Linked DNA regions of Homo sapiens: all the other regions are linked to region 3. Evidence: promoter capture Hi-C in 16 types of primary human blood cells and fetal thymus (Javierre and others, 2016). All regions are on one chromosome and are shown on one strand. Each heading gives the region's core, a stretch centred on a gene start or on the middle of the fragment in contact. The rest is flanking DNA. Distances are from core to core; before and after follow the strand shown. Region 1 overlaps STAC (SH3 and cysteine rich domain). Region 2 overlaps STAC (SH3 and cysteine rich domain). Region 3 holds the start of STAC (SH3 and cysteine rich domain).

Region 1 (4,331 bases), core at 1,449-3,948, 160 kb after region 3:
TAGCCTCTGAATGTCAACCTTCTCATCAGCATAGTAGCATCTCTCTCTTGAACTTGATGTGAGAGTTAAATGTGCTCACCTATATAAAGCCTTAGCACAGTGCCTGGCCACCACAAATGCATAGCAGAAGTCATTTTCCTGGCTACCGTTATCACTAAAGAGTAAAGCCTAAATGAGGAATTCATCTGCAGTGGTTAATGCCACCTAAACTTACCCAGTAAGCACCAGAAAATAGCCAATATGATATTTATAACCCTACAAATATGAAGAGACAAATGGACATTAACAAGAAAATAAAAGAAATTTGATTCTAAAGATAAATGCAATGCACATCTTTGATTAAATCACATTTTCTACTTCTGGGGTTAATCTGTCTCATAATTATTGTATTTTTTTTTTGCAGAGCTCTTGTTTCCAAATATAGTTATCCATTTGTTATGAACACAATGAGAGTTTGCATTGATACAAGTATGTTTTCTGTTTCCTCCTCCTCCTTTTCCTCCTCTTCCTCCTCCTCCTTGTTGTTCTTCTTCATCTTCTTTTTGTGAGGCAGGGTCTCACTCCCTAGGCTCAGGTAATCCTCCCACCTCAGCCTCCCAATCAACTGGGACCACAGGTGTGCACTACCATGCCCAGATGATTTTTGTATTTAATGTAGAAGTGGGGTTTTGACATGTTGCTCAGGCTGGTCTCGAAGTCCTAGACTCAAGTGATCCCCAGCCTCCCAAAGTACTAGGATTACAGGCATAAGCCACTGCACCTGGCCTCTTCATTTTTAAATTTTAAAATGTATCCTTATTAAATCGACTTTAAAATACCATAAAACATTTCTTTAATGGGAATAACATTGAATCTATAAATTACTTTGGGGAGTATGGCCATTTACATGATACTTTTTCTTTCTATCCATGAGCATGGGATGCTTTTCCATTTGTTTGTGTCCTCTCTTACTTCCTTGAGCAGTGGTTTGTAGTTCTCCTTGAAAAGATCCTTCACTCGCCTTGTTAGCTGTATTCTAGGTATTTTAGACTCTTTGTAGCGATTGTGAATGGGAGTTCATTCACGATTTGGCTCTCTGCTTGTCCGTTGTTGGCGTATAGTAATGCTTGTGATTATTGAACATTGATTTTGTATCCTGAGACTTTGCCAAAGCTGTGAATCAGCTTAAGAAGCTTGGGCTGAGATGATGGAGTTTACTTGATATAGGATCATGACATCTGCAAACAGAGACATTTTGACTTCCTCTCTTCCTATCTGAATACCTGTTGTTTCTTTCTCTTGCCTGATTGCCCTGGCCAGAACTTCTAATACTATGTTGAATAGAAGTGGCGAGAGAGGGCATCTTTTTTGTGCCAATTTTCAAGGAGAATGCTTCCAGCTTTTGCCCATTCGGTATAATATTGGCTGTGGGTTTGCCATAAATGGCTCTTATTATTTTGAGGTACGTTCCTTCAATACCTAGTTTATTGAGAGTTTTTAAAATGAATGGACGTTGAAATTTATTGAAGGCCTTTTCTGCATCTATTGAAATAATCATGTGGTTTTTGTCTTTAGTTCTGTTTATATGTGAATTACATGTATTGATTTGCATATGTTGAACCAGCCTTGCATCCCAAGAATGAAGCCAACTTGATCATGGTGAATAAGCTTTTTGATGTGCTGCTGGATTCAGTTTGCCAGTATTTTACCAAGGATTTTTACATCGATCTTCATCAGGGATATTGGCCTGAAGTTTTCTTTTTTTGTTGTGTCTCTGCCAGGTTTTAGTACCGGGATGATGCTGGCCTCACAAAATGAATTAGGGAGGGGTCCCTCCTTTTCAATTGTTTGGAATAGTTTCAGAAGAAATGGTACCAGCTCCTTTTTGTACCTCTGGTAGAATTCAGCTGTAAATCTGTCTGGTGCTGGGCTTTTTTTGGTTGGTAGGCTATTTGTTACTGCCTCAATTTCAGAACTTGTGATTGGTCTATTCAGGGATTCAACTTCTTCCCAGTTCAGTCTTGGGAGGGTGTATGGCCATTGACATTCTTCACAGAATTAGAAAAAAAAACTACTTTAAAATTCTTATGGAACCAAAAAAGAGCCTGTATAGACAAGGCAACCTAAGCAAAAAGAACAAAGCTGGAGGCATCCCGCTACCTGGCTTCAAGCTATACTACAAGGCTACAATAACCAAAACAGCATGGTACTGGTACAAAAACAGATACATAGGCCAGTGGAACAGTATAGAGGTCTCAGAAATAAGACCACACATCTACAACCATCTAATCTTTGACAAATCTGACAAAACCAAGCAATGGGGAAAGGAGTCCCTATTTAATAAATGGTGCTTGGGAAGTGGGCTAGCCATATGCAGAAGATTGAAGATGGACCCCTTTCTTACACCTTATACAAAAATTAACTCAACCATTCAGGACATAGGCACAGGCAAAGACTTCCTGACGAAAACATCAAAAGCAATTGCAACAAAAGCAAAAATTGACAAAGGGGATCTAATTAAACTAAAGAGCTTCTGCACAGCAAAAGAAACTATCAGAGTGAACAGACAGCCTACAGAATGGGAGAAAATTATTGCAATCTACCCATATGACAAAGATCTAATATCCAGAATCTACAAAGAACTTAAACAAATTTACAAAAAAAACAAGAAAACAAAAAACAAAAAAAAAAAAACCCCAATAAAAAGTGGGCAAAGGACAAGAACAGACACTTCTCAAAAGAAGATATTTATATGGCCAGCAAACATATGAAGAAAAGCTCAACATCACTGATCATTAGAGAACTGAAAATCAAAACCACAAAGAGTACCATGTCACTCCAGTCAGAATGGTGATTATTAAAGAGTCAAGAAACAGCAGATGCTGATGAGGCTGTGGAGAAATAGGAATGCTTTTACACTGTTGGTGGGAATGTAAATTAAACCATTGTGGAAGATAGTGTGGCAATTTCTCAAAAACCTAGAACCAGAAATACCCTTTGACCCAGCAATCCCATTACTGGGTATATACCTAAAGGAATATAAATCATTTTATTATAAAGATAAATGCATGCATATGTTCATTGCAGCACTATTCCCAATAGCAAAGACATGGAATCAACCCAAATGCCCATCAATGAAAGACTGAATAAAGAAAATATGGTACACATACACCATAGAATACTATGCAGCCATAAAAAGGAATAAGATCATGTCCTTTGCAGGGACATGGATGGAGCTGGAAGCCATTATCCTCATCAAACTAATGCAGGAACAGAAAACCAAACACTGCATGTTCTCAGTCATAAATGGGAGCTGAACAATGAGAACACATGGACACAGGGAGGGAACAACACACACTAGGGCCTGTTGGGGCAGGGGCGTGGTGGGGTAGTGAGAGGGAGAGCATCAGGATAAAAATATAATGCACGTGGGCTTAATACCTAGGTGATGGGTTGATAGGTGCAGCAAACCACCATGGCACACATTTACCTATCTAACAAACCTGCACATCCTGCACATATATCCTGGAACTTAAAATAAAATAAAAATTTTTAAAAAGAAAACAAAAAATACTGATCTAAAAAGTGGACTTTAAAATACTTAGGAAAATTAACTAAGTCCATAAATTGAATATTTATGTGGAATTCAGTCTATTTTACTCTAGTTGACCAAACATTAATTAAAGATCCTCCTGAAAAAAAATTATTTAAATTGATGCATAGTTTTATTGCACCTATAGAACCATTTTCATTTATTATTTGTGTTCTATCAAAGCTTTAAAAAAAAACAGAAAAAAATATTTTATATTACAAAACCAAAATGCATTTATTTTGGAGAAAATTTGAGGGAAAATATTTTTAAGAGGTATAAAAGATAAAATAGAGACCATAAGCAATTCAACCATTAAATTATTACCAACATAAACACTGGCATATTTCATGTCAAACTTTTAATTCATATTTTGATATCATATCCTCTTTAGTTTCCTAACATTTAAAAAATTTAGTCATTAAATGTTTATCAAAACACAGGTTTTAAGAAAGTTTTATTAGAACATAGCTAAATTTATTCATATATATATGGTCTGCGGCTGCTTTCATGCTACAACTAAATAGCTGAGTTGAGTCACTGCAACAGAGACCAGATGGCCTGCAAAGCCTACAATATTTAGCATTTGGCCCTTTATAGAAAAAGTTTGCCAATCCTTAGTCTAGATGTACAGGAATGTGTTTAAGTTTCTCTTGTTATTGGATATTCAGAGTTTTTATTTTTAAAACTGTTATTGATAACTGCAATGAACATCTCTGAACATAAATATTTGTCTCTAACTCTGATTATTTTCTTAGGATGT
Region 2 (4,366 bases), core at 25-2,524, 140 kb after region 3:
GCCAACGCAGGTGTATTGCTTGAGCCCAGGAGTTCAAAACCAGCCTGCGCAACATGGAAAGACACCATCTCCACAAAAATAGAAATAAAAAATTAGCCAAGCATGGTGGTGCATACCTGTAGCCCTAGCTCTTCAGGAAGCTGAAGCAGAAGGATCACTTGAGCCCAGGAGGTTGAGGCTGTAGTGAGCTATGAACACACCACTACACTCCAGCCTGAATGACAGAGCTAGACCCTATCTATCTATCTATCTATCTAAATTAATTAATTAATGAAAATAGAATACAAACTGGAGAACCCTATTATAATCAGCACTGTTGTCATTATTATCATATACTGCTCTGTGAATTAACATAGACCATATGTCACATCATCCTTCTGGCCAAGTGGGTGTGTACATGTGTGTGATACACTTATACATGTAAATAACCTCCCACACACACTCACAGTCACACACACACACATACATGCACATACACACACACTTATACACATTCAAGTACACATTCATTCACACACACACAAGCACACACACATTGTTAGCCAAAGCTTGATAACCCACACTTAGTTTTGATGAAATTAAATCCTGCCTTCAACACTTACAACGTAACCAGTCACATTATCCTCACTGCTTTTGGGCTCAGCAGTCTGCAAAACAGAGTCTTGGAGTTATCACTTATTATTCACACCAAGGCACCTTTTTTAAGCTGATAAAAACTTTTCAATCAACAATGACTTTCATGACTTTGCTGAGTTGATATTTTATGTAAATAATCAGCAGATATAAATGACTTCAAGTAAACATAAACTCCTAAAACATCTTAGGGACACTGTAACAAAGGATTGAGAGTAAATAAAAGATTTAAAGGTTTAAATGCATATTTTAGCAATCATACAATGCCTGTTCCAAATAATTAATTTTGACTTCCCACATCTAAATCATTTTCGTTTTTATTAGCTCTCCTCAAACAGATTTATATGATAATGGCCATTTTTCATAAGGGTAGAAAAAAGAAGGAAAAAAAAAGACTATAAGCCAAGAGAGGAAAAGAGGGAACTGCTCTTTCAGTATTATTAAATCCTAAAATAAATACAAATTAATTACTACTTCAATGTATGTCAGAACACCTAAATTTGGGGGGCTTCAAAGAAAACCTATCTTCTTTTGTAACGCCAAGTGCAAATTTAGATTCATGAACGGCCGCTCCTGGAAGCAGCAAGTCTCAGATTCTCCATGGGCAAGTCTGAATGAAAGCAAGCAATCATTTCTCCCATTAGTTAGTATTTGCCAGAATTTCTGGAGATGGGATGGCCTGAATTCATCTCTTTGGGGTATTTTCAAAGCACTACTTTAAAAAGAGTTAAAAGTGATGTGAACTCTTGTATGCTATTTCCAGGATTTACTTCATCTATTCACCTCTCATCGCATGATAGCCAAGCATCTGCTCTTTTCTGGGAGAACCATTCACAGGCCCTGTTCTCAAAGAGCTCAGGCAGTCATGGGCCAGGGGACCAGCAGAAGAGTAGATCAGAAGTTACAATCCAGTGTGCAGGGCTGTGGGTGTGAGGTAGCCCAGGTAACTTACAGCAGCCTCAAAGGGACGTGAAAGAAGCTGGGATTCCAGAAGGAAGAGGGGTCATGGGTGGCTGGGAAGCCTTGTTAGTGAGCAGTCACTCTCTCTCCAGTGAGGAAAGCATAAGGGAATAATGGGGTTAAACTTCAGAACCAGATAATTACTTTAAGAGGTGCCAAATCAGGGGCAAAGGCAAGCCCCATTACAAAAAGAGGTGGTGAAAATTCATGGCAGAGGCAGGAGCATATTTAGATAACTACATTAATTCCAGTCTTGATTCTGAAAGACTGCCTTAAAACTTGGCAATGCTTAGTGAATGGACGCTTGGCTGTTTAGCTCATATTCCAGTGAGAAAATGTATGGTTCTTTTTTCTCTTTCTGGAGGTGAGGTAGGAGAACCAAGCCCAATAATTTACAGGTAGAAAATGGAAGCTTAGGACTAGAACCCTTGGAGGTGACTCCCAGTCCACTGATCTTTCTCCTCCACCACACTTTTGATCCTAGGTTCATTGTTCTAAGTTTTCTCTCTGATAAAGCTGACAATTCTATTTTAATCAGCAAGAGTAGGTAACACTTTATCCCTTTTTGGCCCCTCACATCACTTATTTTAAGTGCATTAGGTTTGTTAAGTATGGTTGCTAAGACCAGGAAGTTTGTGATCTACAGAGCATGTTACTGAGAAGTCACTCCGGTTAAAGGATAATTTTTTAAATTTAAGATAAAAACATGACTCTCGTGCAATATAAATTGAACACATGTCAGAATTTTTACATGGCTCATTAATTAATGAGAGAACCAGTAAGATGCTCCACCTTGTTCAAATGAGAACTCAATATATCACATATACATAGGCAATGAGGAATGCTGACAGGAATTTACAAATAGATGCAAAACCAGTCAGTAGTCACAGGATAAAGGGTAATAACTGACTATATTCCACCAGGCAAAGTTCACTTGCATTTCTTTGGACAAAAATCATTTGCATTAATATCAGTTTTCTACGACTTGCTTGAGATGTAAAATAGCTCAAAGGCATTGAAAAAGGGGAGGTAATCTGAAAGGATATGCCAGACGGGACATCCAGATCAGTCATGTTTTTTGCCCATTTCAAAGTCTTTCATAATTTTTCCTAGCATCCTCTTGAGTTCTTTTAATAAATCTCAGAGGTTACCCAAGCAAGTAGTATTTCACAGAGGAGAAAACTTGAGTTAGAATGGTTAAGTCACTTGTTGCAAGCCATAAGAATCTCCTAAAAAATATTATTAAAATAGAGATTCCTGGGCTTCACCTAGACCTAGAGAGTCAAATCCTACTTGGAAATCTGTATGGTTAAATGTCCTCCTGGATTCTGATTATCTGCACTATCTGAGAACAACTGTGACTTATCCAAAGATAGGCAGTGGGCCAGTGGCAGACTCAAAAACCAGAACAGAGGTTTCCCGATTCTGTCAATGCTCTGTGCACAGGTCTGCATTGGCTTTCTGACCTGTGACTTGTGTACATTCTAATGTCCTTCACCCTGCAAGGTTTCAAGGCAGAGTAAGACAGAATAAGGCTCCCTTGGTGTCTCGTTTCTATTCTCTAAGTACATTACTGCTTGGCAAATGCATCAACTTAATTAAAACTAAATGTAATTCTAATGCACCAATTTGATTTAAAAATAATCTTCACAGTCACCAGGACATCAAAATGCAATTAAGGCTATTTGAGGAAAGTCTCTGATGCATATTATGCTCTGATGCTGCACTATGTCAAGAAACCCAGATCTTCCCAAATGTCACTAATGTGTTTAGCAGCCTCCCTCTCACTCAAATGCCTCTCTCATTTAGGTTCTGGAGAGCGTGATCCATGACAGTTCAAGAACATTTACCAAATTCCTTCCAAATTGCCCTTCAGTTGAATGCTTTTCTCTGAGCTGGTCTATGGACTTGGGAAAGTGCAGGCAGTCTCGTGGATATCAGGCTTAAGACAAAATCAAAATGCAAATTCAGGAGTTCCTTATTACATACCCATGTGCCAAGACTGTAAAAGATTCTGGACCAAGATAATGTAAATTGGGAAATAAGTCTGGTGAAAAATTAAGTCATAGATCTAAGATTAATGGAGCCATTTGGCTGGCTCCTTTTTCTGCCCCCTTCAGCTTGGTTTTTCAAGGGTATCTATTTTTGCTGAGTGACTGGTTGCTATAAACTTGATTTAAGGTTCGTTTTGCCTAATGAATGAGAAAGGGCAGGAAATATTAAAGAGGCTCAAAATAACTATATAGTAAAGTGGGCAGTTCTGATGAGTTTTGACACGGCATGGGTGGTGCAAGAGGCAGCTTGATTTAGTGGAGTTAGTTATAGATTCAAACCTTGCCTGTAAATGGTGAAATCTCTCTTAGCCTGCCTACTTGTATGAAAATGCAACTGTTCATGACAACATTTAGTGAACATTGCCATCGCCCTCTAGGCTCAACCCTGCCAACATCTCCATTACAATCAGCCACCTGGGTAATAGAATACTAGGTCCAGCTCCTGGGCCCTGATACACCTTTGTGGTCACTACGTGGAGTGGACAAGGAAGGGGAAGAGGGACAGTATGAAGAGAGGGAGAAGGTTTTCCATAGCTCCGAATCACACCAAATGTTAGCGTCTGAAGCCACTGAAGTCAAGGCTATTTCATTAACCAACCATCCCTGCCAAAAACCTAATGAGACATAAACGTAAAAGGCAATGATTAGAATAAATCTTCTAATTTACAAGTGGAAAAATGCAGGTTTACATGAAAATTAGCAATTTTAAGCCCTACTGT
Region 3 (4,323 bases), core at 1,048-3,547:
ATTGATTACTTAGGAAAGGAAGTCATGGGAACATGGCATTGATTTGGGAATCTAAATCAGATAAATGGGTCAAGGAAGGAGATGTCAAGAGTAGTAAATACTTGGATATGTGATTTGAAGAATAAGATAAGTTAGCTAGATAACAAAAGATCGGATAGAAAATAATGTGAAACTAACACATAAACAAAGGCGTGATTTAGTTTGGGACACCATGGCTAATTCCTATGGTAGGTATTATTTATCAGACTAAGGATTTCTGCTGCTGGATCAGGGTGGGGTGGAAAGGAAGGAGGTACTAGCTTCTCTAAATTTCCTTCAAGGGACAACATTTAAACATATACTATTGGCTAATACTGTTGCTAACTTGAGCTAAGCACTTACTAAAAGTAAGGATGACATCTTCAATTCTTAAAAAAAGAAAATCCAAAAGAAAAAAAGGATGAAAAATTTATTGTTCTAAGCCATGACATGCTTGCTCACCAAGACTGGAATTGCCAGTAGACCCTGGGAGTTTTGTTTCCTAAGAAAACCCTCGTCTGGCCCCATGCTAGCTCAGGCTTCATTTGTACACACTCATCAAAGTCTTGTACTTTCCCTTATCATAGTTTTTTTTTAAATGTGTGTGTGATTTAATTAATTGCTGTCTCTCCCACTAGACTTAAATTCCAGGAAAACAGACTTAATCTGTGTTTTCTCTCTGCTGTATCATTAGTTTCTGGCACAATTCTGATACAGAATAGATGCTTGATAAAAATGTGTTGATATGGCTGCTCCTGTCATTGTGTTTGTGACTTTGGCTACTAGAATTCTGTCTCTATCGAACACTCAGGCATTGTGTTGTGAGAAGGAAAAAGCTGAAGCCATTTGGGCTAGCCAATCTGGCCCCGTACTGAGGGTCACCAGAAAATTTAGAGCATTTTGAAAGCTAAATGCTGAGTAAGAGGCTGACACATTGAACAGTAGCTTTCAATTGACATCTGGGATGGAAAGAGTAAGAGCAAGTTTATTCTAAAAGACATGAGCTAGGGCATGGATGCAGGACCAAACACATAATTTGCAGGGTCAAGTACAAAATGAAAATGTGATCTCTTGTTAAATATTTTTACCGAATTTCAAGATGGCAGCATCAGCGCGGGGCCCTGTGTGACTGCACAGGTTGCACATCCATGAAGCTGTTCTTGCAAACATCTACAGCTAATTTTAAAAATCTGAACAGAAGTTTGCAATTTTGTTTTAAAAAATTGAGGGTATTTTGTATTAATGGGGGAAAAGAGGCTTTTAAATATCTAGGTGTGTTTCTTTTCCCTGCACACTGAGGTTGTCTTCAAAAGAAACTGGACCCTCTGTATCTTTATTCAGTGGGGCTATTCCTATGTTTCCAAAAGATTTAGTAAGGCAGGCTGGTTTGCCCCTCTGTGAACAGTCCTCAACTCTTGCTATACTGCAACATCCAATTGCTCTTCAGCCAAGACCTGGCCTAGATTTGAGGCTCCACAGTCGGAAATGCATGGATTTTGAAGCCCAAATGTGTTCGAATTCCAGTTTCACCAATTATAGTTTAGTGACTTAAAGCAAATTACTCAGTCTTCCTACAGCCTCAACTTCCTCATCTATAAAATGGAAGTGATAATCCCTAGACGCATAGAGTAGCTGGGAGGATTAAATAAGGTAAAAAGAAAGGGTTTAGTACAATAAGTGCACAACAAACGAGGAACAGGTGTCCATATACACACTGCATTATCTCTCTGCTTTAGATCAAAGCTGAATGGAGAAAACGCAGTGCCCGTGAGTCAGGGGACCCCCACTCCGACCCCTGCTCTCTGTCACTGAACCCTATAAATAGCTTAGCTAAGTCACTGTCTCAGTCACTATTCGTTGGGGTGAGGAATGAGGGAGTTGTTGCAAGTGGCTCTTTCTGGCTATATCATTCACAGATTTTCTATTCTTTGGGGTTTGGGTCTGAATTTTCAGCATCCTCTCTGAAGAATCACCCCCACCCAGTGCCGGCGTGCGCCCAGCCTTCCCCCAGCCCTTTCCAGGGCGCTGCCCCCTGCCTGCCCTCACTACTCCAGGCGCTGGCCGCGCAGCCCCGCCCTGGAGCTGCCTCCCCGCCTCCTTCCTCCTCCTGCGGGCGAGCAGAAGCCCGCTCGCCCGCTGCCGAGTGGCAGTCACGACTGTGAGGTCGCCGGCGAGGTGGCCGCGGGCGCGGCGGGGCGGGGCAGGGCGCACTCTCCTCCACGCCCGCGGAAGTGCCGGGGAGGTGGGCAGGGCGGGGAGGGAGAGGGAGCGAGGCTGGAGGAGGGCACGTCGGCGCCTCGGCGAGGATGGGAGTCCCCAGGACCCGGAGCTGAGCAGCCTGGCGCGCGGCGGGCAGGGCGCGCAGGACAGAAGCCTCGCTGTTCCTCCGGGAGCCCAACACCGTTCCCGCGCGGCCACGATGATCCCTCCGAGCAGCCCCCGCGAGGACGGCGTGGACGGGCTGCCCAAGGAGGCGGTGGGCGCCGAGCAACCGCCCTCTCCTGCATCCACCAGCAGCCAGGAATCCAAGGTACCGAGCACGCTTGCCCCCAAGAGAACACAAACTCACTCTCCTCTCCTGTCGGTCCAGCTTTGTCTCTCCTCCTATCTAGCACGGGCGTGGGGGTCTGAGACTTGCTAGTTAGCCCAGGGCTGTAGGACTTGAACGTCCGGTAGGACCCGCTGCTCACGATGCTGGACCACGTCCCTGTGGACCCAGCCTTCCCGCCCACACATTCACACACGCAATTCATGGTGGCTCCGGGTTCAGAGATCGATTTCTTGCGGGGTGGTAGCTTGGTTTTTTTTGTGCTTTGAACCTGCTTGTGTCCAAAGCACGTGTAGGTAGGTATTAGGTGGCTTCTGAAGGCTGAGGGATGGAGACAGCCGAGGGATACTCTTCCAGAAAAGCTTGAGTACTGGGCCAGAAAAGCATGTATGTATCCCAAGGGTCTCAGAGACCTTTTGCTTAACAGGGATCACCCCTACCTTCAGATACTACTCACTAAAAAAGAAAAAGAAAAAGAAAGGGTTTGCCTGCGTTTGTCTGAAAGTTGATGTTCCTCTTGTGAAAGTTAATACTCTAAGAACCTATACTTGCTTTTATGAAAGTTACACTAACACGTATACAAAAAACCAAGCCCGCAGCAGTTCTCCTGTCACTGTTACACTTCCTCTGAAACTCCCGTGGGTGCCAGGCACATGTTTGAAAATCTTGGAAGAGGATAGAGTAAAATGTGGCTGCTAGCAGTGCAATGCCAAATGGCAACTCAGCTGGTGGTGGAAATCCTAAGATGGAGTTTGTAGTTATGTGGATTCTTTTAAGTGTAGAGCTCCTGGCTCTTTATTCTGATTTCATTGTGCGATCCCCAGGCATTTGGGGAATGTGAGGCAGTCCGTGTATACCAGCAAAGGAAAGGGGTTGCCAGTTTATAGGATAGGGACAGGCCAGATGGGGCAAGGAAGACTGCGATCCTGTCTCTCTTCACATGCATCCCTGGAAGCCATTGATATGATCAGGAGGATGAAAATCACAGCCTGAGTGGCTCTGGGGATTTGGTGTGATACTGGGCACTGTACATTTCCCAGCCCCCTGAAGTTAACCATCAATGATGGTAATCTAAGCCCGAAAGCTTTACATCTTATTTATTTTTATTTTTTTCCTGTTACTTACTGGCTGCCAGACCTGGGGTATGTGTGTCAACTTTTCTAAAACTCGGTTGGAAATGAGGGAAAAAGCCCCAACTTCCAGAGACATTGTGAGGAGTACATGAGAGGCCCTAATGTCCACCTGGTATACTGTAAGGACTCAATCATGTTTATCCTTTTCCTTCCTGAGATAAAGAGATGGAATCTATCTCATCTCAAATGATCCACTCCAAAGCAATCTGATAACCCATACACATGCACTACCTCTCCTCAGTCAAAAAGTTTCTGGGTATCATTGCCTCCCATTGAACATCAGTCCCCAGAGTGATATAGGTTAGTGGCCATTTTAGAGGAAAGCTAGAATTCTATAAATGAATGTAGCTGAACTCAAGAGTAAAACTAGTATTGAACTTTTTGAATTGGCCTGTTGCTCTGCAGTAGGCGTGTTCTGGAAAGGGCTTAGCATTTGGGCAAACAGTGGCATGGTTCAAATGCATTATATGGATTTGCTATTTATAGATGTCCTAATGGAAATTATTTGGCAGAGCAAAAGCCACATATGTAATGCCCATAATTATCCACCAATTTATCTGGCTTATGGTTTTGTACAAATTAGTTTTTCTCAAAGTGGTCTATACACCGGATGTGTGTTTCTAC

Evidence for each region. Contacts are between HindIII fragments. The CHiCAGO score rates a contact against its expected background, and 5 or more counts as called.
Region 1: a fragment that was not itself captured here is called in contact with the fragment with the promoter of STAC in region 3 in 2 of 17 cell types (M0 macrophages and M1 macrophages); the score reaches 5.3 in M0 macrophages.
Region 2: a contact is called between a fragment that was not itself captured here and the fragment with the promoter of STAC in region 3, in 1 of 17 cell types (M2 macrophages). The highest score is 5.3, in M2 macrophages.

Annotation. Positions count from the first base shown.
Region 1 is chr3:36,534,193-36,538,523 of GRCh38, forward strand. The region is part of intron 10 of STAC (SH3 and cysteine rich domain); the gene reads left to right. Among named protein-coding and RNA genes, the nearest start is that of STAC, 160 kb to the left of the region's middle. The HindIII fragment of the contact is 2,107 bases long and covers 1,646-3,752 here.
Region 2 is chr3:36,517,413-36,521,778 of GRCh38, forward strand. The region is part of intron 8 of STAC (SH3 and cysteine rich domain); the gene reads left to right. Among named protein-coding and RNA genes, the nearest start is that of STAC, 140 kb to the left of the region's middle. The HindIII fragment of the contact is 1,457 bases long and covers 547-2,003 here.
Region 3 is chr3:36,378,207-36,382,529 of GRCh38, forward strand. STAC (SH3 and cysteine rich domain) reads left to right here and starts at 2,298. Exons shown (of 11, transcript NM_003149.3): 1 at 2,298-2,548. The coding sequence starts at 2,438. The region is part of intron 2 of LOC124906227 (a long non-coding RNA gene); the gene reads right to left. The HindIII fragment of the contact is 3,341 bases long and covers 1-2,926 here.